4 separate regions of the Homo sapiens genome follow, and regions 2, 3 and 4 are each linked to region 1. Evidence: promoter capture Hi-C in 16 types of primary human blood cells and fetal thymus (Javierre and others, 2016). All regions are on one chromosome and are shown on one strand. Each heading gives the region's core, a stretch centred on a gene start or on the middle of the fragment in contact. The rest is flanking DNA. Distances are from core to core; before and after follow the strand shown. Region 1 holds the start of PUS7 (pseudouridine synthase 7). Region 2 overlaps SRPK2 (SRSF protein kinase 2). Region 3 overlaps SRPK2 (SRSF protein kinase 2). Region 4 overlaps SRPK2 (SRSF protein kinase 2).

Evidence for each region. Contacts are between HindIII fragments. The CHiCAGO score rates a contact against its expected background, and 5 or more counts as called.
Region 2: a contact is called between a fragment that was not itself captured here and the fragment with the promoter of PUS7 in region 1, in 2 of 17 cell types (naive B cells and total B cells). The highest score is 7.7, in naive B cells.
Region 3: a contact is called between a fragment that was not itself captured here and the fragment with the promoter of PUS7 in region 1, in 1 of 17 cell types (neutrophils). The highest score is 7.7, in neutrophils.
Region 4: a fragment that was not itself captured here is called in contact with the fragment with the promoter of PUS7 in region 1 in 1 of 17 cell types (naive B cells); the score reaches 5.4 in naive B cells.

What each region holds. Positions count from the first base shown.
Region 1 is chr7:105,519,961-105,523,520 of GRCh38, reverse strand. It overlaps PUS7 (pseudouridine synthase 7), which reads left to right and starts at 1,250. Exons shown (of 16, transcript NM_019042.5): 1 at 1,250-1,469. RefSeq lists enhancers at 1-485, 1,769-2,423, 2,738-3,355 and silencers at 1,122-1,871, 2,081-2,226. The HindIII fragment of the contact is 10,027 bases long and covers 1-3,560 here.
Region 2 is chr7:105,147,100-105,150,618 of GRCh38, reverse strand. All of the region lies in intron 7 of SRPK2 (SRSF protein kinase 2), which reads left to right. Among named protein-coding and RNA genes, the nearest start is that of KMT2E, 130 kb to the right of the region's middle. The HindIII fragment of the contact is 5,598 bases long and covers 1-3,519 here.
Region 3 is chr7:105,192,130-105,195,290 of GRCh38, reverse strand. All of the region lies in intron 3 of SRPK2 (SRSF protein kinase 2), which reads left to right. It overlaps LOC124901718 (a long non-coding RNA gene), which reads left to right. Exons shown (of 2, transcript XR_007060466.1): 2 at 1-2,864. Among named protein-coding and RNA genes, the nearest start is that of KMT2E, 180 kb to the right of the region's middle. The HindIII fragment of the contact is 4,264 bases long and covers 1-3,161 here.
Region 4 is chr7:105,166,916-105,170,251 of GRCh38, reverse strand. SRPK2 (SRSF protein kinase 2) reads left to right here. Exons shown (of 16, transcript NM_182692.3): 4 at 987-1,095; 5 at 2,157-2,244; 6 at 2,788-2,875. Among named protein-coding and RNA genes, the nearest start is that of KMT2E, 150 kb to the right of the region's middle. The HindIII fragment of the contact is 677 bases long and covers 1,051-1,727 here.

The sequences.
Region 1 (3,560 bases), core at 1-2,500:
TGGGCAGGGCATGGTGGCTCATGCCTATAATCCCAGTACTTTGGGAGGCCTAGGCAGGCAAATCACTTGAGGTCAGGAGTTCAAGGCCAACAGGCAAAAACCCCGTCAAAAAAATTAGTCTGGCATGATGTCAAGCACTCGTAGGCCCAGCTACTCGGGAGGCTGATGCAGGAGAATCGCTTGAACCCTGCAACAGAGTGAGACTCTCTCTCAAACAAAATAAAACAAAACGGAAAAACTATTAGAGGCTGGGAGCGGTGGCTCACGCCTGTAATCTCAACACAGAGGCGGAGGCGGGCGGATCACGAAGTCAAGAGTTCGAGACCAGCCTGGCCAACATAGTGAAACCCCGTACTCTACTAAAAATACAAAAAATAAGCCGGGCATGGTGGCGTGCGCCAGTAATCCCAGCTACTCGGGAGGCTGAGGCAGGAGAATCGCTTGAACCCGGGTGGCGGAGGTTGCGGTGAGCAGCGATCGCGCCATTGCACTCCAGCCTGGGCGACAGAGCAAGACTCCGTCTCAAAAAACAAACAAACAAACAAAAAGCAAAAAAACTATTAGAGCCTGGGCAACATAGTGAAATCTTGTCTCTACCCCCCACCCCCAAAAAAATTAGCCTGGGTGCGGTGGGATGCACCTGTAGTCCCAGCTACTTGGGATACTGAAGTGGGAGGATTGCTTGAGCCTGGGAGGTCGAGGCTGCAGTGAACTGTGTTCACGCCACCGCACTCCAGCCTGTGCGACAGAGCGAGACTCTGTCAAAACCAAACCAAACCAAAACAAAAAAAACCTATGATCCGGTTTCTTGAAGCAGATCCTATGGCAAGCCATCAAGCCAGAGCGGTAAGAAGTAGGAAGATGGTGCTTTTAGATCCACTACATTCCCAGGATCAAATGTAGAACAATATTTAGTCCCTAAAGTGATTCTCTTTCCATTATTGTCAACTGCGTGGTCGGTGCAACGTGAAAGGGCCACAACTATGTGAAGGAAACACTTAGAATATAACACCAAAGGAGGCAATCGCTGCCTTAGACTTCCTAAAGATCTAAAGAACTCTTAGATGCTTGGTGAAATCGCTCTCTGCCGCTGGTGCGACTCAGGCGCGGTCGCGAGGAAGGTCCAGGGTGAACGCGCGTAGGCTGGGAGTCCGCGTTGGGGCGCTCCCTGGCTTGCAGGCCGCTCCGAGTGGGTGGGCCGGGGGCGGGGCCGGCGGCAGGGAGCGGACTCCGCCCCCGGGGCGGGTCCAGTCGGGCCGCGGCGCGTCGCTGCGCCGCACGTGTGCGAGCCCGGCCGCCGGTGAGTCGGCTGGAGCGCATCTGGTCCTCCGCGCGGAAAGCGCTGCTTTTGCCTGGCCGCCCTAGCCGCTGGCTCATCCAAGTGGCCTTCGCCGCTCTCTTGCGTCCCAACCAGAGCGCTGGCCACCTCGCCGCCCAGCTCACGCCGCGCCCGCGCTCCCAGGCTCCGGGTAAGTGCGCGGCCTCCCCGCGGCCGCCGGGGCTCCTCGGCCTGGCCCTGGCCCCAGCCCCAGCCCCAGGGCCCCGCCCCAAGAGGCAGTGCGGACTGGGAAGGCGGACTGGGAAGGCGGCCCCGCAGTGGTCAGAGCCCGCGGCGCCTCCATTATGGATCGTGCCAGCGGGAGCACGGTTGGAACCCAGTGGGTCCTGCGCTTCGGCGGTGCAGGCGCCGCTCTCCGCTCCCCGCTCCCCGCTCCGCTCTGCCCGGCCAGTCGTCCGGAGGCGCCGCGCCCGAGCGCTCCCCTCCTCCCCGCGCGGCGCTGTCCCCCGGGGGCCCCCTTCCCACTCCTCCCTTTCTTTGCCCCGGACGCTCCCTAAACTCTTGTCCCTCCGTCAGAGGAACACTGGCCCTGAAGCCCTTCACGGTGCCACTGCTTCGCCGCGCCTGCCTTCTGTGGGTCCAGCCCACGTGTTCCACCCCTGTGTCCTGCGTCGCCGCTCACTGGGAGCCTACTAGGCGCCACGCGGGCTCTGGGGACTGCTTGCTTTGTATGCATTTCCCAGAGTAGGAGTGGACGGGCTGCAGACTCAGAGTGCTTTCTCCAGCCCTCAAGCTGGGTGAATGCTTAACGAGTGGATGGAGGTGCTGCTGTGCAAGCTGAAATTCGAGTCCTCCTCGTCAGCCCTGCGCAGAGGTGTTTAGAAGCACACCTTCGTTGCCTGCCGAGTAGGGTTGGCAAAGAGTTTAGTTTTTAAAATATTTGGTCCCGTCAGACTACTTTTTTTTTCCATTCCAAAAATAAAGGGTTACTAAGGTTCCCTCCCCCCCATCCCCAAGCCTCTAATCATCTATGAAATGACTATGCCCCATTGGCCTGGGGGAGCCTCGACTATTGAGGGATCTGTCGAAAATCAGACTGTACAACACTATTGAAAAGGGGTTGGTTAGGCAATTGTTAGGTTCAAACATTAGGAAAGTAGCCAACAGTACGTACTTAACAACTCCTTGTGAACATGTTTTTGGTTTTTTTATTTTTATTTTTTTAATTTTTTTGAGACAGAATTTTGCTCTTGTTGCCCAGGCTGGAGTGCAGTTGCGTGATCATCGCTCACTGCAGCCTTGAACTCCTGGGCTCAAGCAATCCTCTCACCTCAGCCTCCCAAGTAGCTGGGACTATAGGCATGTGCCACCACACAGGGTCTCGCTGTGTTGCCCAGCCTGGCCTCAAACTCCTGACCTTAAGCAATCCTCCTGCTTTGACCTCCCAAAGTGCTGGAATTACAGGCTTGAGCAACCACACTCGGCCTTGAACATATCTTTGTTTTTTGATTTATTTTTTTTAGACGGAGTCTCACTCCATCACCCAGGCTGGAGTGCAATGGCACGATCTTGGCTCACTGCAACCTCAGCCTCCTGGGTTCAAGCGATTCTCCTGCCTCAGCCTCCGGAGTAGCTGGGATTACATGTGCACGCCACCATGCCCAGCTAATTTTTGTATTTTTATTTATTTATTTATTTATTTATTTATTTATTTATTTATTTTGAGACAGTCTCGCTCTGTCGCCCACATGTATTGCAGAGGCAGCACCTCCATCCACTCGTTAAGCATTCACCCAGCTTGAGGGCTGGAGATGTATTGCAGTGGCGCGATCTCGGCTCACTGCAGGCTCCGCCTCCCGGGTTCACGCCATTCTCCTGCCTCAGCCTCCCGAGTAGCTGGGACTACAGGCGCCCGCCACCACGCCCGGCTAATTTTTTATATTTTTAGTAGAGGCGGGGTTTCACTGTGTTAGCCAGGATGGTCTCGATTTCCTGACCTCATGATCTGCCCGCCTCTGCCTCCCAAAGTGCTGGGATTACAGGCGTGAGCCACCGCGCCCCGCCTAATTTTTGTATTTTTAGTAGAGACGGGGTTTCACCATGTTGGCCAGGCTGGTCTTGAACTTCAGACTTCAGGTGATCCACCCGCCTCAGCCTTCCGAAGTGCTGGGATTACAGGCGTGTGCCATCACACCCGGCCTTGAACGTGTCTTTTGATAGAGGCAGGGGCATGCATGTACTGTATTAATGAAGCAGCGTTTTTCCTTACCTAGGAGAGAGA
Region 2 (3,519 bases), core at 768-3,267, 370 kb after region 1:
TTCAAAAGTATAACCATGTTCTCCATGGAAATATTTTACATCATGTTATCTTTCTTACTATTGGTCCTTTGACATTTTATTTGCTTTTTTTCTTTTTTCCTTTTAGACAGAGTTTTATTCTGTCGCCTAGGTTGGAGTGCAGTGCCATGATCTCAGCTCACTGTGACCTCCGCCTTGTGCCTCAGCCTCTTGAGTAGCTGGGATTACAGGCGTGTGCTACCTTGCCTGTGCCACTATGCCTGTGCAGTTTTTTTGTGTTTTTAGTAGAGACAGGGTTTCGCCATGTTGGCCAGGCTGGTCTCGCACTCCTGGCCTCAAGTGATCTGCCTGCCTCGGCTTCCCGAAGGGCTGGGATTACAAGGCAAGGCTGAGCCCGGCCTTGACATTTTAAATGTAATTTAAACATATCCTAATTGCAGTATTATCCAAAACAGTAAATATTCTAAGGCAAAAAATGTCTTAAAATCTTATCCTAGTTTTATCTACTTCACTGGTACTTACTAGGAACTTGTCAGTATCTTATTAAATCATATTTGCCATGCCCATGATTCATCTTGGTTTTTTTTTTGGCCAATTACCCCACCCGTCATACTCATTTCCTGTCCTGAATTGGTAACCTCTGTGAGGATATGAGGACTGTAAGCAACATGAAGCCTGGGAGCTTTTATATATCAAACACCTGGAATAATGGCATGTGATAGGAGCTCAGGCGATGCACATTCAGTGAATTTATGTAAAAATACTCTGTAAGGTAAAGTTGTTTTAAATGTTTGTAGGGATTTTGATCGTTTTTAAGAGGTATTCCTGTTTTCATTTTCCTTGTAAAATCTTTGTTCCCTCTCACTTCATAATGCTACTTTAACTTCTACTAACAGTAGGCTAACTACTAATAGCTTACTGTTGATCAGATGCCTTCCACTGTCGATTAAACTGGGAATATTTCAGTGTTGGATTGAAGGAGTGGCCTGCCCCTCCACACCTGTGGGTATTTCTAGTCGGGTGGGACGAGAGACTGAGAAAAGAAATAAGACACAGAGACAAAGTATAGAGAAACAACAGTGGGCCCAGGGGACTGGCGCCCAGCATACCAAGGACCTGCACCGGCACCGGTCTCTGAGTTCCCTCAGTTTTTATTGATTATTATCTTCATTATTTCAGCAAAAAGGAATGTAGTAGGAGGGCAGGGTGATAATAAGGAGAAGGTCAGCAACAAACACGTGAGCAATAGAATCTATGTCATAATTAAGTTCAAGGGAAGGTACTATGACTGGACGTGCACGTACACCAGATTTATGTTTCTCTCCACCCAAACATCTTAGTGGAGTAAAGAATAACAAGGCAGCATTACTGCAAACATGTCTCACCTCCCACCATAGGGCGGTTTTTCTCTCATCTGAGAATTGAACAAATGTATAATCGGGTTTTATACCGAGACATTCAGTTCCCAGGGGCAGGCAGGAGACAGTGGCCTTCCTCTATCTCAACTGCAAGAGGCTTTCCTCTTTTACTAATCCATCTCAGCACAGACCCTTTATGGGTGTTGGGCTGGGGGACGGTCAGGTCTTTCTCATCCCACGAGGCCATATTTCAGACTATCACATGGGGAGAAACCTTGGACAATACCCAGCTTTCAAGGGCAGAGGTCCCTGCAGCTTTCCACAGTGCATTGTGCCCCTGGTTTATTGAGACTAGAGAATGGCGATGACTTTTACCAAGTATACTGCTTGTAAACATTTTGTTAACAAGGCATGTCCTGCAGAGCCCTGGATCCCTTAAACCTTGATTTCATATAACACATGTTTTTGTGAGCTCCAGGTTGGGTCAAAGTGGCTGGAGCAAAGTGGCTGGGGCAAAGCTACAAATTAACAACATCTCAGCAAAGCAGTTGTTTAAAGTACAGGTCTTTTTCAAAATGGAGTCTCTTATGTCTTTCCTTTCTACATAGACACAGTAACAGTCGGATCTCTCTTTTCCCTACATTGGATGATGTGAAACATATAACACTTCCTGTCTCTTGTGAACAAAATGCCTATTCAATTCATTGTTTGAATGGTCATTGATGTAATATTTGCTTAACATTTGGAATTTCTAATGCTTATATGAGAACATGATCTGTTTTGTAAAAATAAATTTTGTTTATGGAAATAATTGAAAAAATTATTCTCCAGTGGAAATAATTATAGAAAAACACTGACCTTGTATTTAGGTCACTGACACTGTAAGTTTTTGATTGTTTTAATATGAGAAATATGAATATCTTGGTTCATCACTTTCTTTTAGTATAATGCTGTAGGGTTGTCTAGATACCAAGGCTATTTTCTATTTAAATCAAGCCCCCCTTCTCTTGCAGTGTTAAAAATGTATGGACATCATTAGCCATCAGGGAAATGTAGATCAAAACTACAACAAGATACTTCATATCCACTTGGGTGGATAAAGTAAAAAACGATAGTAAGTGTTGTTCAGGGCGAAGAATTGGAACCCTCATACATTGGTGATAGGAATGTAAAATGGTGCAGCCACTGTGGAAGACACTTTGGCAGTTCATCAAAAAGCTAAATATAGAGGCACCATATGACCTAAGTACGGTAACTCCTAGGTATATACCTCCCCTCAAAAAAAGTATGTTCACACAAAAATGTATACACGAGTGTGAATAGCAGTATTATTTTTATAGCCCCTAAAGTGAAAATAACCCAAATGTTCATGAGGTGAAGGGATAAACACAATGTTGTATCTCCATACAGTGGAATACTGTTTGCCAATAAGAATAAGCGAAGTACTAATACATGCTGCACAAGAGTCAAACTTGAAAACATTATGCCAGTTACAAAAAAATACTTTATATGATTCCATTTATAGGAAATGTCCAGAATCAGCAAGTAGATTAGTGGTTGCTAAGGGTTAGAAGGGGTAGGAGAGAGATGGGAAGTGAATGCTGATGAATATGTTGTTTCTTTTTGGAGCAATGAAAATGTTGTCATTTAAATAGTGGTGGTAGTTGCCGTGTGTGGTGGCTCACGCCTGTAATCCCAGTACTTTGGGAGGTCGAGACAGGTGGATCACAAGGTCAGGAGTTCGAGACCACTGGCCAATATGGTAAAACCCCGTCTCTACTAAAAATACAAAAAAAATTAGCCAGGCGTGGTGGCATACGCCTGTAATCCCAGCTGCTTGGGAGGCTGAGGCAGGAGAATTGCTTGAACCTGGGAGGCGGAGGTTGCAGTGAGCCAAGATTGTGCCACTGCACTCCAGCCTGGGTGACAGAGCGAGACTCTGTCTCAAAAAATAAATACATAAAAAATTTAAAAAATAAATAGTAATGATAGTCGCACATCTAAAATCCATTGAATTGTATACCTAAAGGGGTCAATTGTATGATACATGAATTACTAGCCTACTGTTGATCAGAATCCTTAATGATCACATGACCAATTAACATGTATTTTGTATGTGTGTTATATAGCATATTTTTACAACAAAGTAAGCTAGAGAAAAGAATGTTAAGACAATCATAAA
Region 3 (3,161 bases), core at 108-2,607, 330 kb after region 1:
GATCACGAGGTCAGGAGATTGAGGCCATCCTGGCCAACATATCGAAGCCCTGTCTCTACTAAAGATACAAAAAATTAGCCGGGCACGGTGGCACGCGCCTGTAGTCCCAGCTCCTCGGGAGGCGGAGGCAGGAGAATCACTTCAACGTGGGAGGCGGAGGTTGCAATGAGTTGAGATTGCGCCACTGCACTCCAGCCTGGGCGATAGAACGAGACTCTGTCTCAAAAAAATAAAAACAAAAAATAAAAATATATTTAGCAAAAGAGCAGTGCCAAAATGTCAGCAGTATGTGGTAGGCCTGAGGTGTTTTTTTGAAATATACTTTTATCTTGTTGCTGCAGCACCATTTATCGAGAAGACTTGTTCCCCCACCTATTCAGTTGCTTGCCTTTGTCCATCAGTAGACAGAATGTATGGGGGTTTGTTTGTGGACTCCATCTGCTCCATCCCTCTTTTGGTCAATGCTTGCTCTAAAGGTCTGGTTACTATAGCTTTGTATAGCATGCCTTGAATGGGTAGTGTCAGTCTTCCAGCTTTGTGCTTCTCTTCCAGGATTGTTTTGACCTGTCTCGATCCTTTGCATTTTGTATAAATTCAGAGTCAGCTTATACATATAAATTTTAGATACGCCTTAATAATATTGAATCTTCCAACCCATTAACATGGTATTGTGTCTGTTTATTTAGGTCTTTATTGTTCTCAGAAATGTTTTGTAGTTTTTGGTGTGGTTTTGATGGGTTATAGAAATGTAACTGATTCTTATGCACCAACCACGTGGCCTGTAACTATGCTGTTTGCTTATTTATTAGTGTTTGTGCATGTGTAAATTTCTCTAGGTTTTCTCTACACACAATCATTTCATCATTTCAGGGCAAATGGAGGTTTTTCTTCTTCCTTATGATTCTTTATAAATTATTATTCTTTTTTGCCTCATTCTTTTATGCATGAGGTTGAATAGAAGTGGTAAGAATAGACATCTCCCTTGTCTTGTTTCTAATCTTACAGTGAATATGTAGTTTTTTTTTAGATACCTTTATCAGGTTGAGATGGATCATATATTTAAATATAAAGTTAAAACTGTAAAGTTTCTAGCAAAAAGTAAGAGAATATCTTCACAACCTTGGGAGTAGGGAAGGATTTATTAGAGAGCATATAAGAAACATTAACTATAAAATAAAAAATTAATTAGACTTAATCAAAATTAAAAACTGTTCCTGATTAAAAGACATTTTTAAAAATGAAAAGACCAGCTTCAGACTGGGAGAAGCTCTTTGCAATACATTTACCTGACAAAGAATGTGACTGGGAGGGAACTTCAAGAGTGAGATTTTGGAAAAATGTTCTGTATATTGATTAGAGTATATGTATTTGTCAAAAAGCAGGGAATCGTACACATAAAACCTTTGACTTTCATTGCATGTAAATATCTGAATTTTAAAAAACATTGATAGTAGCTAGTTACATCTGGATTGTAGGGTTTTGGTTTTTGTCTTCTTTACCTCTTTGTATTGGTTTTCTTTGTTTTCTGCATTGAGCATATATTTCTTTGTAAATACAGAAGAATATGTGCTTTTACTGCTGAAAGAAATCATAGACGACACAAACAAATGGAAACACATCCCATGCTCATAGGTGGGTAGAATCAGTATTGCGAAAATGACCATACTGCCGAAAGCAGTCTACAAATTCGGTGCAATTCCCATCAAAGTACTACCGTCATTCTTCACAGAACTAGAAAAAACCATCCTAAAATTCACATGGAACCGAAAAAGAGTCTGCATAGTCAAAGCAAGACTAAGCAAAAAGAGAAAATTTGAAGGCATCACATTACCTGATTTCAAACTGTACTGTAAGAGCACAGTCACCAAAACAGCATGGTACTGGTATAAAAATAGGCACATAGACCAGTGGAACAGAATAGAGAACTGAGAAATAAACCCAAATACTTACAGCCAACTGATCTTTGACAAAGCAAACAAAAAAGGGAACAGACACCCTATTCAACAAATGGTGCTGGGAAAACTGGCAAGCCATCTGTAAGAGAATGAAACTGGATCCTCATTTCATACCTTAAACAAAAATCAACTCAAGATGGATCAAGGACTTAAATCTAAGACCTGAAACTATAAACATTATTAGAAGGTAACATCGGAAAAATCCTTCTAGACATTGGCTTAGGCAAGGATTTCATGATCAAGAACCTAAATGCAAATGTGATCAAAACAAAGTTAAATACCTGGAACTTAATTAAACTAAAGAGCTTTTACACAGCAAAAGGAAGAGTCAGCAGAGTAAACAGACAACCGAAAGCGTAGGAGAAAATCTTCACAATCTATACATCCGACAAAGGACTAATATCCAGAAACTACAATGAACTCAAATTAGCAAGGAAAAAAAAATCCCATGAAAAAGTGGGCTAAGGACATGAATAGACAGTTCTCCAAAGAAGATATACAGATGGCCAATAGACTATGAAAAAATGCTCAACATCACTAATGATCAGGGAAATGCAAATCAAAATCACAATGCAATACCACTTTACTCCTGCAAGAATGTCCATAATCAAAAAATCAAAAAATAATAGATGTTAGCATGGATGCAGTGAAAAGGGAACACTTCTACACTGCTGGTGGGAATGTACAGTAGTACAGCCACTATGGAAACCAGTGTGGAGATTCCGTAAAGAACTAAAAGTAGAACTACCATTGATCCAGCAATCCCACTAACTGAGTATCTACCTAGAGGAAAATAAGTCGTTATATAAAAAAGTTACTTGCTCATGCATGTTTATAGCAGCACAATTCACAATTGCAAAAATGTGGAACCAACCCAAATGTCCCTCAATAAATGAGTGGATAAAGAAACTGTGGTGTGTGTGGAGTACTTCTCAACCATAAAAAGTAATGAATTTTGGAGCAACCTGGATAGGATTGGAGACTCTATTATTCTAATTGAAGTAACTCAGGAATGGAAGACCAGACATCCTATGTTCTCTCACTCATAAGTGGGAGCTAAGCTATGAGGATGCAAAGGCATAAGAATGACACTGTAGACTTTGGGGACTCAGGGGGAAAGGGTAGGAAAGGGATGAGGGACAAAAGACTACAGACTGGGTTCAGTGTATACTCTATCGGTGATGGGTGCACCAAAATCTCACAAAT
Region 4 (3,336 bases), core at 140-2,639, 350 kb after region 1:
CATTGTTTATTTTGGTCAGTTTTCTTGCACATATCCAAAAAGATTTGAATTTAACTTGTTTAGGAGAAAAAAAGTCTTTAAATACCAAGAGCTGGTATGTGCATAACGTACACACCTAGATTGAAATACAGAACCTTGGCCAGGTGTGGTGGCTCATGCCTATAATCCCAGCACTTTGGGAGGGGAGATGTGCGGATTGTTTGAGCCTAGGAGTTCAAGACCAACCTGGGTAATGTGGTGAAACCCTGTCCCTACAAAAAATACAAAAATTAGCTGGGCATGGTGGTGTGTGCCTGTAGTTCCAGCTACCTGGGAGGCTGAGGTGGGAGGACCTCTTCAGCCTGGGAATCAGAGGTTGCATTGAGCTGAGATCATGCCATTGCACTCCAGTCTAGACAACAGAGTGAGACCCTGTCTTAAAAATAAATAAGTAAATAGAGAACCTCAAGTTATCATTACGGTGTGCTAGATGGTTCATTGCCTCTTTAAATTAAATTAAAACAAGAAGTCTAATAGGAATTCATAGAACACTTTTTGGTCAGGCTGTCTGGATTGCAGTCGCACACTTTTCACTCAGGCTCATTGCAGCCTCCACCTCCCAGTTTCAAGTGATTCTCTCCCCTCAGCCTCCTAAGTAGCTGGGATTACAGGTGCTCGCCACCATGCCCTGCTGATTTTTGTATTTTTCGTAGAGACTGGATTTCACCATGTTGGCCAGGCTGGTCTCGTACTCCTGATCTGAAATGATCCACCTGCCTTGGCCTCCCAAAGTGCTGAGATTACAGGTGTAAGCCACCACATCCAGCCAACACTTTTTCTTGTTGAAAGATATTCCTGAAAAAAATGTTGTATTATTAAACATGTTTTAGTCTGCATGTATTATGTAGAGCTTTCTTTAATGACATCAAGAATGACAAAAGAGATGAAATGTTTATTACTACTTTTCGAATATTTTGAATTTTTTTCTTTCTTTCTTGTTTTTTAAGGTGGATATCATCCAGTGAAAATTGGAGACCTCTTCAATGGCCGGTATCATGTTATTAGAAAGCTTGGATGGGGGCACTTCTCTACTGTCTGGCTGTGCTGGGATATGCAGTAAGTGTTCTTTGTCATTTGTGCATTTGTTTCCTGGAGTAGTTCAACATCTGTGTTCTAAGAAGGTATGGCTGAGGGTCACCACTGCTTTGTTGAGGTATGTGAAGTGCTTAGCACAGGCCTGCCTCAGCTGGCTAGATTCCTTCCTGCCCCCTGCCTTAGTTTGAAGTTCATTTGAAATCTTAAAATATTACTTGCTTCCAGCTTTATTTCAAAGTTAATTCATTGAAATTGTTTTACACTGGGATTATATTATTTTTCTAGTAATTCATCCATATCAGACAAACATAATGTATAGTATAGGCGTTTCAAATCAGTCATTTTTAACTTTTCAAAGCCATGACCCATAGTAAGAAACTTCATTGCTACTCCATACACACACACACACACACACACACACACACACACACATTTGGTGCGTGTGTGTGTGTGTGTGTACTGAAACAAAAGTGTTAAAAGAGAATGGTTTTCACTATTAGGTTGGTGTGTAATATTCGTGATAACTCTGATGTTTATCTAGTCTTATTTTAATTAGGGAAAAAACAAAACAAAACATAAAAGAGATTGTCTTGACCCATACTACTATTTAATGTGGCCCCACCATTTGAAAAGTACTATTTTAAAGGAAAGCTTATGTTTCTGTGTATTGGATAGATCTCATTACAAGTTGAATATCCCTTATCTGAAATGCTTTGAGACCAGAAGTGTTTTGGATTTTGGAATATTTGTGTATATACACAATGACCTATCTTGGAGATGTGACCCAGATCTAAACACAAAATTCATTATATTTCATATACACCATATACACATACCCTGAAGGCAATTTTATACGATATTTTAAATAATCTTGTGCAACATGCAAATCTTTTACTGAGTTTTGATTGCAGTCAGAGGTGGAATTTTACACTGTGGCATCGTGTTGACACACTCATAATGTTTTAGGTTTTGGCGCATTTTGGATTTTACATTTTCCAATTAGGGATGCTCAACCTGGATACCAGTGATTCTTTCTACTGATAATATAGATAAATAGACTCTTTTTTTGTTTTTTCTTTTAGGGGGAAAAGATTTGTTGCAATGAAAGTTGTAAAAAGTGCCCAGCATTATACGGAGACAGCCTTGGATGAAATAAAATTGCTCAAATGTGTAAGTACTTTAAAAATGTGAATGATATAAGAAAACTTAATGACTTAAAATTTTACAGAAAGATTTTTCTGGGTAATACTAAATTAAAGTCAAGTTTGGCTGGGCACGGTGGCTCATGCCTATAATCTCAGCACTTTGGGAGGCCAAAGCGAGCAGATCACTTGAGGTCAAGAGTTCGAGACCAGCCTGGCAAACACGGTGAAACCCCATCTCTGCTAAAAATATAAAAAATAGCCAGGCATGGTGGTGGGCACCTGTAATCTCAGCTCCTTGGGAGGCTGAGGCATGAGTATCACTTGAACCTGGGAGGCAGAGGTTGCAGTGAGCCGAGATCGTACCACTGCACTCCAGACTGGGCGATAGAGCAAGACTCTGTCTCAAAAAATAAATAAATAAATAAATAAATAAAGTTTATTTTTTATAACTTTGTGATGAATTTTTTATTTTAAAATATACTTTTATTTAAACAGTATTGGTGTTATAATGGGAAAACATGCTTTGTCTCAAACTCCTGTGTTCTTGCATTCATTTTTCTTGGCATAGGTTCGAGAAAGTGATCCCAGTGACCCAAACAAAGACATGGTGGTCCAGCTCATTGACGACTTCAAGATTTCAGGCATGAATGGGATACGTATCCTTTACTTCCTGATTTATTTGTATTTTTACCTTTTAAAAAATGAAAATATTTCAAGCTCCTATAATCTCTGTTTACTGCTGTATCACCTTCAACATAAACACTCTAGGAACATTGTCAAGTATTATGAAGTGGTCCACCTAGAATAGTTTTCATGGCTTTTTGGGGTGTTTGGTAGAGTAGCATCTTAGAAACTTATTTTTAACACAACAACTTGACTTAATTTTGGTGTGGAATTAATTATTGATCTCTTCCCATTAATAGTGGTAAAGTTTTTTTTGTGGTGGTAGATAAAAGCATACATCAGCACCACTTCTTTGTGTTTTAAACTTTCTAAAACCAGTGCATAAGGACAATCTGTGTGTGCCCCAGTGGCTGCAAAGCACCATGTGAAAATGGAGCATTGGTTAAGATAAAAGGAAAAATGCTCTGTAAATGTCCACATCCCAAGGTGGCGC